3 separate regions of the Homo sapiens genome follow, and all the other regions are linked to region 3. Evidence: promoter capture Hi-C in 16 types of primary human blood cells and fetal thymus (Javierre and others, 2016). All regions are on one chromosome and are shown on one strand. Each heading gives the region's core, a stretch centred on a gene start or on the middle of the fragment in contact. The rest is flanking DNA. Distances are from core to core; before and after follow the strand shown. Region 1 holds the start of CDHR2 (cadherin related family member 2). Region 2 holds the start of FAF2 (Fas associated factor family member 2). Region 3 overlaps RGS14 (regulator of G protein signaling 14).

The links. Contacts are between HindIII fragments. The CHiCAGO score rates a contact against its expected background, and 5 or more counts as called.
Region 1: the fragment with the promoter of CDHR2 here is called in contact with a fragment that was not itself captured in region 3 in 1 of 17 cell types (fetal thymus); the score reaches 6.5 in fetal thymus.
Region 2: the fragment with the promoter of FAF2 here is called in contact with a fragment that was not itself captured in region 3 in 1 of 17 cell types (fetal thymus); the score reaches 6.1 in fetal thymus.

What each region holds. Positions count from the first base shown.
Region 1 is chr5:176,548,055-176,550,754 of GRCh38, reverse strand. CDHR2 (cadherin related family member 2) reads right to left here and starts at 1,413. Exons shown (of 32, transcript NM_017675.6): 1 at 1,341-1,413. RefSeq lists an enhancer at 208-1,141. The HindIII fragment of the contact is 9,099 bases long and covers 1,264-2,700 here.
Region 2 is chr5:176,446,958-176,449,753 of GRCh38, reverse strand. It overlaps FAF2 (Fas associated factor family member 2), which reads right to left and starts at 1,369. Exons shown (of 11, transcript NM_014613.3): 1 at 1,284-1,369. The coding sequence starts at 1,346. RefSeq lists enhancers at 1,289-1,348, 1,659-1,718, 1,799-1,988 and a silencer at 1,429-1,478. The HindIII fragment of the contact is 11,476 bases long and covers 941-2,796 here.
Region 3 is chr5:177,360,347-177,363,046 of GRCh38, reverse strand. All of the region lies in intron 1 of RGS14 (regulator of G protein signaling 14), which reads right to left. Among named protein-coding and RNA genes, the nearest start is that of RGS14, 3.8 kb to the right of the region's middle. RefSeq lists an enhancer at 998-1,147. The HindIII fragment of the contact is 605 bases long and covers 968-1,572 here.

The sequences.
Region 1 (2,700 bases), core at 164-2,663, 810 kb after region 3:
CCTCCTTCAGTGTGGGGAGCCCCCGGGGTGCACTCAGCCACGATGCTACAGAGCTCCCCCAGCACCGCCACCGCTACACGGCCAGCTCGCCATGCACTTTCACTTCTGCTTTTTCATTTACTTCTCACAGCTGTTCCCAAGCAGGAATTATCCTATCCTATTATTCCAAGGAAACCGAGGCTCATAGATGCCCAGAGATGGGTGAGCCAGGGGCAGCAGGTTAGACCCAGGCTGCCTCCAAATCCAGGGGTCCCTGGGCAAGCCTTGGTCTGGGCTCCGTTGATCCAGGAGGCCGTGCCTGCACCCACAGAGCGGACTCCAGCCGAGCCTGGGTGCCCGGAGCAAGGATGTGGGACCTGAGCACGCAGCTCCCCGCCACGGGCCCTCCCAGTGCCTATGGCCCAGGCCACCTGGCCCAGCAGACACATACAGACTCAAACAGCCCTGGGTTCAGATGGCAGCATTTCACATATTTGTTGTGCAACCCCAGGCAAGCCCTCTCCCCTCTCCAGGCCTCAGTTTCCCCTGCTGAGAAGCAGAGTGAGGATAAAAATCAAGGGGTCTACACACGGGCCATGACTTGTTTCCATCTGCCGGACCTCGGTGCTCACTGGGACCCTGCCTTGTGCCTGGTGCCCAACCCAGCACAGGCCTGCCTGAGTGACGCAGCATGGCCCCGACTCTCAGCTGGGTCACCACCTCCTCTACCAGGGCAGAGAGATGTGCAAGGCCCGGACTGGGCAGAGCTGGGGCCAGCCTGGGTCAGTCCCTGCCTGACACTTCCTAGCACTGGCTGAGGTGGCACTGGGCTCGGTCATAGGCCACATGCTCACCTTTGCCTCAGGGCTTTTCAGGCCCTTTCTGGAACTCTTCTCATCCCCATTTGATAAATGAGGAAACGGAGGCCCAGAAGAGTTAAGTAGCCCACCAAGGTCAGGGTGGAGCTGGGATGTGAACCGAGCAGCTGGGGTAAGAGCCCAGGTCAGCTTCCCCGTCCTCAACCCCTGAGCATCCTATGAAGGGGTCAGGCCAGTTACCTCGTTTCCCTGGGGTGCCTGCCTCCCTTCCATCCTCTGAAGAATCATCCCTTGAGGACTTGGATGGGAAGGGGGCCATCAGCCCCCAGGGAAGGAGGTATTATTATCCCATGTTTACCAAAGAAACAGGCCTCACAGCAGGCTGGGACCTGACCCGGCTCTGCCCCATCTAGCGTGTGACTTCCCCTGCCCAGCTTCAGGGGAGACTTTTAAAGACCCCCAAGCTTGCCTTGGCTCTAGGGATCCCCCCAACCCCCACATTTCTCTGGCCCAGAGACCCCCGATGAGCTGGATAGTCCCTACCTGTGTCCCCTTCGCCACGGAGGCGGCAGGCAGGCGCCGGACAGGCGCTGGCACACAGGTGGGCACCCTCTGCGGCCTGCAGCTATGTGGCCAGCAGACTTTGGCACCATCTCCACCTCCACTGAGCAATCATTAACCCTGCCAGAGACCACACCTCCCAGGAGGGGTCGACTCCTAATGAGGCAGAGTACAGCTGGGGGCGCCGGACAGGAGGAAGGGACCAAGGCGCCAGAGCTCCTGGCGCTCCTGGGGCTGGAGGCCCACACCACAGGAGAAGGGGCCTGGCCGACCCTGAGCCCAGAGGACCTGGGAACAAGGCCCAACACTGGGGCAGGCTGGAGGCGGGGACGGTGACAGTCAGAAGGTGATGCCAGAGCCCCCGTCCCCTCCCTGCTACGAGTCTTCAGTGACAGGGGATCTGTGGACAAGTGGGGGATTGAGTCAGGAGAGGGAAGTGGTAAAACAGTGTAACAATCAAACACTGTGTGGCCAGACCAGCCCCTGTGAGGTTCTCGTGGAGGACTGGGGGCTAGCTGAGCCTGGACAACCCACTTTCGAGCCTGTTGACACTGATCTCACCCCGCATTGAGACCCTCAAAAGGCATCTGCCCGTCCCCAGGGGCTTCATCCACTCCCAAGTTGCCTTTTTTTTTTAATTATTTATTTATTTTTGAGTCAGAGTCTTGCTCTGTCACCCAGGCTGGAGTGAAGTGGCACAATCTTGGCTCACTGCAATCTCTGCTTCCTGGGTTCAAGCAATTCTCCTACCTCAGCCTCTCGAGTAACTGGGATTACAGGCGTGGGCCTCCACACCCGGCTAATTTTTTTTGTATTTTTAGTAGAAACAGGGTTTCACCATGTTGGCCAGGCTGGTCTCGAACTCCTAACCTCAGGCGATCCGCCTGCCTCGGCCTTCCAAAATGCTGGGATTACAGGGATGAGCCACGGAGCTCGGCCCCCAGGCTGGCTTTAAGCGCTGCCCGATGTGGTGGCCTCCCGAAGGGGCTCAGCCACAAGTCCTTCTTATCCTCACTTTGGCCCAGCCATCACAGTTGACACAGAAAGGGGACCCTGGGCACAACTTTCTTAAGGCACACCACTGAGTCGTCACCATTGGGTGGCCCTCTTCTTGTGGGCAGAGGACATGTCTAATTCACAATAGATATATAGTCATGCACCATATATCTGTGTTTTGGTCAACAACGAACCACACATATAATAGCGGTCCCATAAGAGTATAATATCATCTTTCATGGCACCCTTTCTGTGTTTACATGCACAAATACTTACCCCTGTGTTACAGTTGCCTGCAGCGTGCGGTACAGTCCCAGGCTGCATAGGTTAGCAGCCCAGGAGCACA
Region 2 (2,796 bases), core at 120-2,619, 910 kb after region 3:
AATATTTACACATTTTATATAAGGAAATAAGTGTATCAATAACTTTAGGTCTATCCTAAGTCAAATTAATAGCAGAAAATACTATTTGGGGGCATTTTGCAGTCTACAAGGCCCTTCTAACATCCATATGTCCATTTGATCTCCCGAACATCCTCAGGAGGTAGATTTTTTTTTTTTTGAGACGGAGTTTCACTCTTGTTGCCCAGGCTGGAGTGCAGTGGCACGATCTCGGCTCACTGCAACCTCCGCCTCCCGGGTTCAAGCGAGTCTCCTGCCTTAGCCTCCCGAGTAGCTGGGACCACAGGCGTGCACCACCACGCCCGGCTAATATTTGTATTTTTAGTAGAGACGGGGTTTCACCATATTGGCCAGAGTGGTCTCGAACTCCTGACCTCGTGATTCGCTGGCCTTGGCCTCCCAAAGTGCTGGGATTACAGGCGTGAGCCACCGCTCCTGGCCTGGGGGTAGACATTTTTAAGACAGTCCTTTCAGAGATAAGGAAACTGGTAACAAAGTGCCAAGGTTACCCACCCTAGTGGTATCCTCCAACCATTCTCCAGCTCAGGGGTAAGTGATCAGTGGCAAATGTTCTTAATACAACATCTTGTATTAACATAACATTTCTGCAAGTTACCACCCTCCTCAAGCATAGTTAAGCACAGGAATCCAGGAATAAGCCAAAAGTAATAAATCCCGACAGACCACTGATGACACTTATCATCTTGCATTGTTTCCTCACTTGGTGTCCTCCCACACCTCTAGGGCGGGGACCAGATCTGTGTGTAGGTGCCCCCTCCCCGACCGGAACCCCCAACACGAAACCTGGTATCCAAGAGGCCCCAGTTTGTGGGAGTGTATGTGGAAATGGCATGGGATGCTGGCAGGAGGTTTTCCTGTCAGAGACCCGAAATGACGCCAACTCCGCGGTGGGGACTAAGCTTCTCCGGCAGATATAGACTCGTTGGGCGGAGAGGGTCCGACCGATAACCGGGCTGGGAAGGATGGCTGAGGACTGACGCCGCTAAGGCAAACCAGGGAAGCTGACACGCTGAGGGCACAGAGGCACAGACGAGGCGGGTCTGCCCGCAGCGATGGCTGGAAGGCTAGGGTCCAACAGAGGCTTGGGGGCCGGGGGAATCAGGGCAGTTGGAGTCTGGGGGGGAGGGGGCCGGCCTGCTGGTCTGAGAAGGATCTGAACCCAATCTGAGGAGGGTTCTGAACTCCTCTAGGGGCCTACTCCCCATCCCACGGAGGCATCTGCTGCACCGAGTACTCGCTGCTACCTGAAACTGCAGCAGCTTCTCTGTCTGCTCCTGGGTTAGATCCCGCTCCTCAGGCGCCGCCATTTTGCCGCCGCCTCTACGCTCCTGACCCGTCCGCACCGTCACCCGCCGGAACTGACCTCAGCCACAACCACATCCGGTCTGAACGGCCGCCGGCGCGCAACTGCGTCTGCGCGCGCTGGCCCACTAACCTCCCCCCGCCCCCCGCCACCTCTGGCCGCCGCCAGAGGGCGCCACGCTCGGGCCTATCCCGAACACTTCCGGAAATTGCCGAGGGACTGTCGGTACAAGTCGCTCTTACCATTTAGGCGACGAAAGGATCTGCTAAGATTAGGCGACGAAAGGAGACCTAAGATTCCAGTGCAGTCTTGCAGAGCCGAGAGGGCCCGAATGTGCCTCGAGAAGCTCCGGAGCATCCCGAATGGCATTCGGCTGATTTCGGCTGCTCTCTAACCATTTTCCGGCAACCTCAGATACTCTTGGAGGTTTCTCGGGAGACGCAGCCGTTCCGAAATACCAGCCTTTTGGTCGCTGGCCCCTGACCTAAAGTTTCCAAAAGCTCCTGACCATCTCTCGGGAGGTTCCGAAGGGCTCTGGATACTGGCGCGGCATTTCCGACGCCGCCTTCGAAGCGGAAGCTGTGGGCAGACTTCGGCCACCGTTCCATTGCCGCTTCGGGGTCACTTGCAGGAAGATCTGGACTCGGCTCCCCGGATCCTCGACCATTCATGGCGCCCCCAGTCGTCCGCACAGCTTGCCGTCCACCGCCGTGACTGCGGCGCTGGAACCCCGGCCCGGCATCTGCTTTTCCGTGCCTGGAGCCTTGTCTCTCCGCACTAGCGCTGCACTGGCCCCTTGTCTCTGTGACAGGCGAAGAAAGATCCCTGGACCGGGATTAGGAGACGCGGGTTCTAGTTGCCACCTTGCCAACTGCTGGACATCCTTGGGCAAACCACTTGGGCTCCATTTTGCCATTTGTTGAATGAGATTCCCCAAAAGCCCCTGACGTGCTGCCGCCGCCCCTTCTCCTCGAGGCAGTCCCCTGCCCTTCCCTTCTGCTGCTTACACTACCCTATCACCACCCCTCAATCTCTATCTTCCTCTGCACGTCCCTTGCCCCTTCTAGTCCGCCACCTCTCTTTAGATTTCCCGTTTTCATTTCCACCTCTCCCGCCGAACGCCTCCTCTGCCCACCTTCCAGAGAGGCCTGGGTCTGGTACACGCTTTTCCACTGACCACCTGTGTGATTCTCAGCAAGGCTCTCGGCCGCCTGCGCCCCACCCTCGTCCCCTTGCAGGGTTGATCCGGTGAGACAGAAAAGGCTTTGAGAGCTGGTTCTGTGAAGAGTACATGAAATTTTGGCTACTTCTTTCAGGACTTATCAGGTCTTACCAGGTCTGCACAAACCACGACGTCCTGGAAAAACAGCACATGGTACGCCCTAAAACACAACCCCCAAAAAGTGCTAATTGGAAAAACAAAACAAAACAAAACAAAAACCCTGCAAATTTGG
Region 3 (2,700 bases), core at 21-2,520:
CCCCAGATCCCCGAGAATCACCCGGACTCGCCCCCCTCCGCTGGGCTGCTTGGCCCTGCCCTCCTCGCGCACACCCTGAGCCTCTGTCCTGCCCTCTAACCCCGAGTCAGGGGTGATAGGCGCTGGAGCTGGCGCCAGCCAGCACTTCAATTTTGTTTGGCCCTCACAGGTTTATTTTCCACGTTCTGCTTAACTGAATGTCGTTAAGTGGGGCTGCCTGCTAGATCCTCCCCAGGCCCCACCCCTCCCCACGGTGCCAACCCGGGCCCTTTCCCTGCCCCCGGAGGCACGTTGCGGTTGCCAGGTTACGGCTAAAACCCTACCTGGGCCTGACTAATGAACCCCCTTCAGCCTCACCCATTTTCCTCCCCCTCACCTCCACCCTACACTTCACCGAACTTTTCTATTTTCCCCACACCCCTGCTTCCGGCTTTGCCATTGCCAGTGCCTGGGTATCTGCTCCTGCTCTTCGCTTGGAATTGCTCCCCGATCTCTGCCCGTTGACATTAGTCGTCCCCAAACACCAGGCCCCTTGAATGCCCCTTCCCACCACGTGCTTATCCACCCATGTCCCGGCCTCTCTCCCTGCCAGTCTGGTCACCCCTGGAGTGCTGGCCTGGTTGGTGGGAGGGGTCAGATCTGAACTCCCTCCTCAAGAAGCACCGTCTTTGCCTCGTGCTCCCAAGCAGCCATCAGGACCCTGGCCTTGGCACCCCTTCACTAGGGACTCTCAGCCCCTGAATGCCACCTGTAGCTCTCCATCCTGAGCCTCTCTTGCCCTGACAGTTGTTGATAGCATAGCTGGAGCTGAAATTGAGTAGGGACAGAAATCTGGAGATGGGTGGGAGTGGGGGTGGAATCCAATTCCAGCTCTGCTATTCGGGAACAAGTAACTTCTCTGAGCTTCAGTTTTCCCTGGGTAGCATGGGGCTCAGCACTCCCAATTTCCTGAGGCTGCTGTGAAGCTTGAATGAGGCCCCATGAGTGAAAGCACCAGGCATGCCACAATCAGAGCAGCACCCCACAGCGGAGTGAGGTGCAGGTGTGCAGGGGCCCTGCAGGGGCTCTGGCCTGCCCTGGCTGCCACTGCAGGGCCTGGGGAAGTTGTGTTGAGCAGGGCTGGCCTCCCCTGCTTCAGCCTGCTTGAGAAGAAGTGGTGAGTGAATGGAGAAAAAGGGGAAGAAAGGGCAAGGAAGGGTGTGGTGGCCAGTGACACACGGACCCAGGCTTGGACCTCGGCCGGTCATATTTTTTTCTTAGGAATTTGGTCCTGGGGGAGCTGCTGGCACCTGAAAATGCTAAGGTGAGAGTAAGGCCCCAATTTCCTGAGCTTTGACTGTGTGGCAGGCACCCTCTGGCAGCACACATTCATGTCCTCCCTCCATCTTTACGGGTATCTTGTGTGGCAGGTATTATTACCCCCATTTTACAGATGAGGAAACTGAGGCCCAAAGAAGCCATGCAGCTGAGATGTGGCAGAACTGAGATTAGAACTCAAGTTTGCCTGATTCTGGAGCCTGAGGCCTCCCCACCCTCTACCCAAGCTGACTCCCTTTGTGGACCAAGGAAGCTTGGAGGCCCAGGGCCTCAGCCCTTGGGGCACAGGTGGGCAAGTCTAATCTGGCATGACCTGCTCAGGGGCTCCTCTTGAACTGTGCCCTCTAGAGGGATCAGACCTTGAAGGAGGGCCAATTTTCTGAGCATCTTCTATGCTGGGCACCCTCTACCATCCTCTTGAGGATTTCATCCTAGCTTGAGGGGCTGCAAGACCCTGTCTGGAGATGTCCACACAGAATCTGGGTGTCTGGTCCCTTCAACTTGAACCAGCCTGTGGAGATGACCCCTGGCCTTGCCCCTGTATAAGGCCACCCTGAACTCGAGTGCCCTGAGCTGGACGCGAGGGACAAAGAGAGAGCTGCATGGGCTTTGCCTTGCAGGTCTTCCTGCCAGGAGGGGAAGACTAACTAGGCCCTCTGACAGGACAGGACAGGCTAACTGCCCCTCCAGGCTTAACTCTCAGCCTCCCCTAGGGCCCTGTCCCTGTGTTTGCCCACAGCCAGGCCTATGCCGTGCCCTCCCTCCTCCAGCTTGCAGACCCTTTAGGGACCGTCTCCTACAACACGGTGCATGGAGCTAGTGGAGAGTCTTGCTCTGTCGCCAGGCTGGAGTGCAGTAGCACGAACTCGGCTCACTGCAACCTCTGCCTCCCAGGTTCAAGCAATTCTCCTGCCTTAGCCTCCCAAGTAGCTGGGACTACAGGCACATACCACCACGCCCAGCTAATTTTTTGTATCTTTAGTAGAGAAGGGGTTTCACCATATTGGCCAGGATGGTCTCGATCTCTTGGCCTCATGATCTGCCCGCCTCGGCCTCCTAAAGTGCTGGGATTAGAGGCGTGAGCAACTGTGCCTGCCTCCTCTCTCCCTCCTTCCCTCCCTCCCTCCCTTCCTTCCATCTTTTTTTTTTTTTTTTTTTTTTTTAATATAGGATCTTGCTCTTTCACCCAGACTGCAGTGCAGTCTGAGTGTGATCACAGCTCACTGCAGCCTTTACCTCCTGGGGTCAAACGATCCTCCCACCTCAGTTTCCCAGTAGCTGGGACTACAGGTGCATACCACCATGCCCAGCTAATTAAAAAGAAGATGGGTCCTCACTATGTTGCCCAGGCTGGTCTCAAACTCCTGGGCTCAAGCGATCCTC